2 separate regions of the Homo sapiens genome follow, and region 2 is linked to region 1. The links are contacts of gene promoters, found by promoter capture Hi-C in blood cells and fetal thymus (Javierre and others, 2016). All regions are on one chromosome and are shown on one strand. The core of a region is centred on a gene start or on the middle of the fragment in contact, and the rest is flanking DNA. Distances in the headings are between cores, read along the strand shown.

What was found. Contacts are between HindIII fragments. The CHiCAGO score rates a contact against its expected background, and 5 or more counts as called.
Region 2: a fragment that was not itself captured here is called in contact with the fragment with the promoter of CLEC2L in region 1 in 5 of 17 cell types (endothelial precursors, naive CD4 T cells, naive B cells and 2 more); the score reaches 7.5 in endothelial precursors.

The regions. Positions count from the first base shown.
Region 1 is chr7:139,521,583-139,525,222 of GRCh38, forward strand. CLEC2L (C-type lectin domain family 2 member L) reads left to right here and starts at 2,103. Exons shown (of 5, transcript NM_001080511.4): 1 at 2,103-2,535. The coding sequence starts at 2,346. The HindIII fragment of the contact is 20,495 bases long and covers 1-3,640 here.
Region 2 is chr7:140,005,364-140,009,423 of GRCh38, forward strand. It overlaps TBXAS1 (thromboxane A synthase 1), which reads left to right. Exons shown (of 13, transcript NM_001061.7): 10 at 1,728-1,819. Among named protein-coding and RNA genes, the nearest start is that of PARP12, 56 kb to the right of the region's middle. The HindIII fragment of the contact is 1,123 bases long and covers 894-2,016 here.

The sequences.
Region 1 (3,640 bases), core at 853-3,352:
ACAAGAGGCATGCCCTTTTCCCCTTGGTTCTTCCTCTTTCTGTAATCTGGTGTGCAGGTGTGATGGCTGGAACCACAGTGGCTATAGTGTGACCATGAGGGAATCCTGAAGATGTAGGCTATATACTAAGGATGATGGGAGCAGAATGAGAGGAAGAGCTAGGGTCCCTGATGATCTTGGAGCTCTCAATCCAGCCCTGGGCTGATCACCTCTAGACTTCTTTCAGGTAAAAAAAACACAAAAAACCAAAAAACAAAAAACAAAAACCTTCTTTCTAGTTAAACTCTTACTGGGGTTTTCTGTTGTAGTCTTGTTGAACCTACTCTGAATGAATGCAGTATCCTAGAGACTGTGCAATCAGAAGCATTAGCAGAAATTTGGTAGGCAAACTAGGGTGCATGGGGGCTACAAGGAGGGGTTAGAAGGACCAAGGAGGAGATGTGTTCCAGGCAGAAGGAAGACAGTGTTCAAAGGCCCAGAGGAAAGAGTCAGAATAGTTAGGTGTGTCTAGGGCTGGCAGAGAAGGGGTGGGAGGAGAGGATGCCTTAGGTAGGAGCAGGACTTTGACCATGAGGGACCTTGAGGCCTTGTAAAAAGATGGCCTTAATCCACAGGTAAAGGGACCCCTGAAGGAGTGGTGAGTTTGCACTTTAGGTAGATGCTGCGGGTGTGGAGGGGGAGGGGCTGGATAGGAGGGAGCAAGAGTGGAGGATGGGAGACCCCTTAGAAGGCTGCTGCTGTGGTCGGGCAAGAGAAGGCATTGGCTTGTACTTGGCCAGTGGCTAGAGGGATGGAGTGCAATGCGCAGACTAAGAGTTTAAAAGGGGCCGGGCGGCCGGGCGCGGTGGCTCACGCCTGTAATCCCAGCACTTTGGGAGGCCGAGGCGGGCGGATCACGAGGTCAGGAGATCGAGACCATCCCGGCTAAAACGGTGAAACCCCGTCTCTACTAAAAATACAAAAAAATTAGCCGGGCGTAGTGGCGGGCGCCTGTAGTCCCAGCTACTTGGGAGGCTGAGGCAGGAGAATGGCGTGAACCCGGGAGGCGGAGCTTGCAGTGAGCCGAGATCCCGCCACTGCACTCCAGCCTGGGCGACAGAGCGAGACTCCGTCTCAAAAAAAAAAAAAAAAAAAAAAAGGGGCCGGGCACGGCAGCTCACGCCTGCAATCCTAGAACTTTGGGAGACCCAGGTGGGAGGATCGCTTGAGCCTGGGAGGCCGAGGCTGTAGTGACACTGCACTCCAGCCTGGGCTACAGAACGAGACCCTGTCTCAAAAAATAAAAATAAAAATATTTTAAAAGGGAGAATTCACAAGAGTCAGTGGCCTATTGGATTTGGGGGAGGGAGCAGGAGGAGCTGGGGATGAGGAACTGAAGATGGAGACAGGAACCAGAGGTTGGGGCTGAGAATGGTGGAGGGGGAAGAGGATCAGGGCTGGAGGCGTGGGGCTTCAGGCGACGCGAGGTCAGCTGAGGCAAGGGGCCAGTGAAGGCTCCGGAGGGAGCCCTGGCCTGGGAGTCAGACACCCGCCAAGCACGCACCTGCCTGGCGCCGCCTTCGGAAATGTCCTTGACCTCAAAATTCCACTTCTCAGCCTCACCTGGGGGCATTGTCAGCTAATAATATGTGAAAGTCCCTGGCGCTTAGTAGGTGCTCAATAAATGTTAATTGAATCTGCAACGTCACTTCGCTTGCTCCTTTAGACTCTACTGTCTCTGTGCTCATCGTTCGGACGTTTCTCTCCTTTATCAAGAGTTTGGGGGTCAAGTCACAGCCCCTACCACCCTCTGCTGTGGCTCCAGGGCAGCCGGGAAGAAAGGCGCTCATCTTCCCTGAGCCTCCCTGCACTGTCCCCGCGAACTTTATTCCCATTTTCACAGATGGTGAGCAGGCGGCTGGGGAGATGGAGCTGAGTTAGAACCAGGTCTCCCGGCTCCAAGACTGCGCTCCCAGCTCGACAGCATCCAGCCTCCAGCCCAGGTGGCGGGGTCGGGGAGCCGGCTGTCCCCGCTCCTCCGCGCCTCCTCCCTCTCCGCCCCTGCCCCGCCCCGCCCGGGTCCACGGCTCCCGGCTCCCGCGCGCCGCCTCGCGCTCCTCCCCAGCCCGGCTGTGCGTGGAGGCTGCGGCTCGGCGGGGCAGGCGCTGAGCGCACCGCGGCGGCACCCGGCGCAGAGGCTCCAGCGCGGGGAGCCGGGCTCAGCCCCGGCCTGCCAGCGCCGCGGTCCTAGCCCACCCGAGGCCGGCCTGGGGGGCCCGCAGGGCGCGCGGAGCGCCGAGTGCGCGTCGGGCTGGGCCCCGCACCCCGGTGCAGGAGCGCGGGCGCGGCGCGGCGGAGCGCCCCGCATGGAGCCGGCCCGGGAGCCCCCCTCGCGGGCCCGGCCGCCGCCGCCCCTCGCCGCGCGCCCCGCGCCCGCCCCCGCCGCCCCCAGGCCGCGTTCGCCCGCAGAGGCTGAGGCCCGCGGCCCCGAGGGGCTGCTGCGGCGATCCGGGTCGGGCTACGAGGGCAGCACCAGCTGGAAGGCGGCCTTGGAGGGTAAGCGCGGAGCGGCCTCCCTCTCCTGGCCCAGGGACCCCTGCCCAGGCCCGACCCGCGACCCGGAGGCGGTCAGAGTCACCTTGGCCGCTGTCCCGGAGGGGAGCGCTGGGAGCGCGGCGCCGGGACGCGGCGGAGTCATTCATTTCAGGGCGGCCAGACGCCGGTTCGTGGGGTGGGGTGGGAGGGAACCGGGGGCCACCGCGAGTCACAGCCTCGACCCCGCCTCTGCTGCGACTCCCTCTCTGACCTTGGAGCGGGCTTCACGCTCTGAGCCTTCGTCTCCTCACGCATGAAGGGGACAAACACTGCCTGACACCCACCAGACAGGCGTGTTGAGAGGGTGGCGGAATCTGTGGTCGTGAACACGCTTCGAGTAAAGTAAGAAAGCTGGAGACCCCAGAGGTGGTGCCCGCCCCTGTGAGAGCCGCGGGGACCCCGTGGTGGTGGGGCATGTGGGGAGGGCAGGGCAGGGCAGGGGTGGAGAATCCAGGAGAGGCTCTTCCTTGCAAGGTCAGGGGTCACACCTACTCCTCCATCAGACTGCCTCAGGGAGGGACCCCTGGCCTGCCTCCGGGGCAGTAACCCAAGTAGAGAATTGATTTCAAGTTCATGAGCTCTTTAAGGAAACTTGTATTAGCTACCGCCGGCGGCGTGTGGTGTGGGAGATGCAGGAGTTGGTGAGAGGGTGGCTGGCCCTTTGGGTGCTTCTCAGGGTGCTCCTGGCACCCTGAATCCAAGGACAAGGAGGACCTGGGCAGCATTAACTAGGGAAGCCTGGAGCCTGGATCACCCATCCTTAGGGAGGCAGTGTCAGAAAAGGAGGGCTTCCCAGGAGTAGGTGACCTCTTAGCAGGCGTGGAGACAGAGGGGAAGGTGTTCCAGACCCAGAGCATGACGTATCCCAGGCCAGGTGGTCAGAGCTACTCTGTGCCACGTGGGAACTGAGCCCTGGAGTACTGAGATGGGGCAGGGTGGAGAGAGACGGGCCTGAAGGACCCAGACGGTGAAGGGCCAGCCAGGCCTTGCCCAGGAGCTTGGACTTTGTTCTGAAGGGGCTACTGAGGGGTGGAGATGGTGGGCTTGCCCTTGGAAGACTGGTGGT
Region 2 (4,060 bases), core at 205-2,704, 480 kb after region 1:
GGATGCAGTGAGCCGAGATCACACCACTGCACTCCAGCTTGGGCGACAGAAAAAGACTCTGTCTCAAAAAAAAAATAAATAAATAAAAGATAAAGTTATGAAGACTCTCAAGACAGCGCCACAGAGGATTAACCCCCGCACAGAGCCCTTTTCATTGGTCACTTGCTCAGCCAGCTGCCCCAGTGGCCTGTGATGGGAGTGGGAAGTGTGGGGTTGGGTGATAACCTTCTAAAGTTAGAACCGTTCCCAGAAATGCAGACGGGAGAGCTTTGGGAAAACCATCCAAACCTTGTTATTTTTTATGACAAAGTAGGAATGCCACCCTGGCCCTCTAAATTCATAAACAGTCACAGACATGGGATTAAACTACATATAATTTCTGCAACGTGGCTTATAGGCATCATTAAACAGCTGCAATATGTTGAATGGCTATGTCATCATAGATTAGCTACGATACTGGCTATGGACTTCAAGACTCCATGTGTCCTGGCCCCTGCCCTTCCACCCCTCTGACCCGAGATGCAGTTCTAACAGGTTCCCGGGTGATGCTGCTGCTGCTGACCCTTGCCCATCCCGGAGCTCACTTTGAGAGCTGGCTGAGATCCCAGGCAGGGTGGCCAGTGGCTGCTCCAGGGCTGTGAAGGGCTCCCCCTGCAGACGGAGGAACTAGGCCTCCCAGCGCCTGTAACTGGAACGTTGGCGGCTTGAGAATGGACTTGCCCTGAAGGCCGGCCTCCTGCTGCTCTGGGAAAAAGAGGGAACAGAAGAAAGCAATCCGCCACCTTGGGGACTCCTCCTGGATTAGCATTATCTAGGTGAAGAAAGTGAGACCATCACCTACCAACCAGATAACTCATTCCACCTCTGTGGGCAAACTGGCAGAGCAGCAAATAAGCTTCCTTAATCCCAGTGCGCCCACACCCTGCTCAAGAGCTCATGGGCACGTGTTCATCTTCAGGCCAAAGATGGGGAGCCAGGGAGTGACAGACTGTCACTCCAGGAGAGTCACCCGGGGGTGTTAGGATCCCCACATTTGCACCCCCTGAAATCTAATCAGCATTTTCCAGCTGTTCCTAATCTGACCTGTGCAAATGGAATCTCATTGGAACTTGCATTTTTCATTATAGTAACTCATATGGCCTCTGTGTTTCGCCTGTTCATAGCCTTTGACCATTTTTCTAGCTAGTTGTCTTTTCCTACTGACTGATAGTAGCTCTTTGGTTTTTGTTACTGTTAGTCCTTTATAGATGTGGCAAACTTTTTTATTTGCTATTTCACTATTTGCCTTTTGACTTCATAATGTGCCATGACTACCCATGTGACAGGCTCTTTGAGCCTCAGTTTTCTCATCTAAGAGATGGGGAAACAGTCACCACACTGGCTTAGTGGAGCATCAAATGCGGTAACGTCTATGCTGCACTTGGTCGGCCACATCGTCAGCTCCCAATAAATGCTGGCGGCTGTGGTTGCCGCTGCAGTTTTATAACCAAACTTCTCTGTATTACGAAGACCCCTGAGCCCCAGGCTAGCACCGTGAAATATAAGCACAATAGAACCACTGAGCGCCAATCAGATGCAATTTGGGTCATACCGACTTTCCATTTTGTGGGGTTTCTGTTTAAATGTTTGCCAAAGTTGGAAACGAGATTGAAATTTAAGGAAAAGACAAAATGCTGTGAGATTTGGGCTAACACGAACTTCTCCCTTTGTCACGACCCCTCCATCAGATGGCCCCTGAGTTCTGCAGCCTCGAGGAAGGCCTGCCCTATCTGGACATGGTGATTGCAGAGACGCTGAGGATGTACCCGCCAGCTTTCAGGTGTGTGGTAGCCCCCTCCCCTGCCCGAGTCCCCACCTCCTACCCCTACCCCCTGCCCCAGCCTGCAGGTCAGGGCCCTCCTCCATCAGTTACCACTTGTGTTTCTGGAGGGCAACGCCTGAGTCCTGGGTTCCTTTGTATCCCCATGGCACCTCAGATATCTGGCCCGCTTTCCTACAGGTTAACAACCTTCTCAAAGCTTCACAGGCATTTTCTTAACACCGCCTTCCTCCCCAGCCCAAGCTGGCCCTTTGGTCTCCTAGCCTTTGCTGGCTTTTGCCATTTCCCCTGCCTGTTCGTTCATTCATTCATTCATTCGTTCATTCATTCATTCAGCAATTGTTTATTGAGCATCTACTCTGTGCCAAGCATTGGGAAATCAGCTGTATATAAAACAGATAAAAGTCCCTGACTGATCTTGGAGCTGGCATTCAGACAGTAGGGGACTGTCTGAGTCCTGGGAGCTCCTTCCTGCCATCCAACACCCCCAGCTGTCCCATCCTGGAGCTCCAACACGACTCACCCTCCAAAACGTCTCACTGCCCCTCAAGACGTCTGTGTTGGGCTTGCCTCACCTGGTCCTCCCTGCCCTTCCTCCTCAGCACTTTGAGCTGTAACTATACACTTCATGTTATATTCTTGGACACATATCTGCCACTCCATGACATTTCACTAATGTACACACCAACCAGCCGGTCACACCAACCTGTGGGTATCTTGAGAGCAAAACCAACTATTGTGCTTCGTTCAAACTCTCCCAAACAAGGCACTCCATAGAGAAGGGCATCTTAATTCATGTCCCCAGACCCCTACAGAGAGTGAAGTAACAGCCAGATTTCAGGCTCTAGAAACAGAAGCAGCACAAAGCATTAACCGTATGTGATAAATTCCACTCAACACTTTTATGAATTAACAGATCACATAAACCATATGGAAATACCTTTCACCATTTTTAAAGACAATATGTGGATGATTTGAGGGTATCTCAAAACGATATTTCAACACAAAAGCATTACAAAGAATGCAATTGTAGACATTGTCCAAATGTTCAAGTCCAGAAGCAAATACAGAAAATTCCGGTGGCGTGATTCGAACTGCATTGTCCTCAAGCACACAAGGTTTTGGGTCTCAGTGTGGAAGCAGGCCAGTCACTCAGGGGCTCTGTGCCCCCTCTCCCCATGCCAGCATTAAGACCTGATGTGCAGCCCTTCCCTGATCTCCTTTGGAGCCTCTTGCAAACTGTCATCCAATTCTTTCTTTTATTCTTTTTTTTTTTTTTTTTTGAGATGGAGTCTTGCTCTGTTGCCCAGGCTGGAGGGCAATGGTGTGATCTTGGCTCACTGAAACTTCTGCCTCTTGGGTTCAAGAGATCCTCCTGTCTCAGCCTCCCAAGTAACTGGGATTACAGGTGCCCGCCACTATGCCCGGCTAATTTTTTGTATTTTTAGTAGAGACGGGGTTTCACCACGTTGGCCAGGCTGGTCTCAAACTCCTGACCTCAGGTGATCTGCCTGCCTTGGCCTCCCAAAGTGCTGGGATTACAGGCGTGAGCCACCAATCCCAGCCTTATTTTTTTCATAATTGATATCCAGCTTTCTTCCAAGGGGATTGTGGGAAGCTGGTGTACATGTTAAAATGAAGTTCAAGATAAAGCATTCAGGGATCAAATAGAACAAAGGCCATTTAAAGGAAAGAAGGCCTTACAGGGCCCCAGAGCTGGCTGGTAGCTGGGGTCCAGCTGTGGCTTGGTGACCAGGGCTCCTGGCCAAGAGGGAGAGCAGCCAAGCCAAACAGGTGTGTTCTCCAGCAAGAGGACAGCACAGAAACTGATCAATGGACACAGTACTTCCTGGACCTAAACTCAGCCACGAATCCATCAGACAAGACCTTATTAGCTGTCATGTTGAATAACAAAGGGGTTAGGCTCTTCAACATGAAAATGCGGTGGCCGATTCTCCACTGACCCGTTATAAACAGCAGAGCAGAAAAGGAAGTTGGTGCAGGTGGACCAGGAAGCTGGTGATCTCACCTGAGGACCAGACAGAAACTAGAGAACCTGGGTGAAGTAGTTAGAATTCATCTAACAGGTCTAGAGGGCACGTCAGAAGACCATCTTGGCCCTGGCCTTGGCATACTGCGTGATCGTGAGCCTCATGCTGCTCCGTGCCTCTCCTTCCTACGGGTTAAATGGGGACACACACCTGCTTGGCTGGCCCTGCAGAAGCAGGCAAGAGGCAGTGG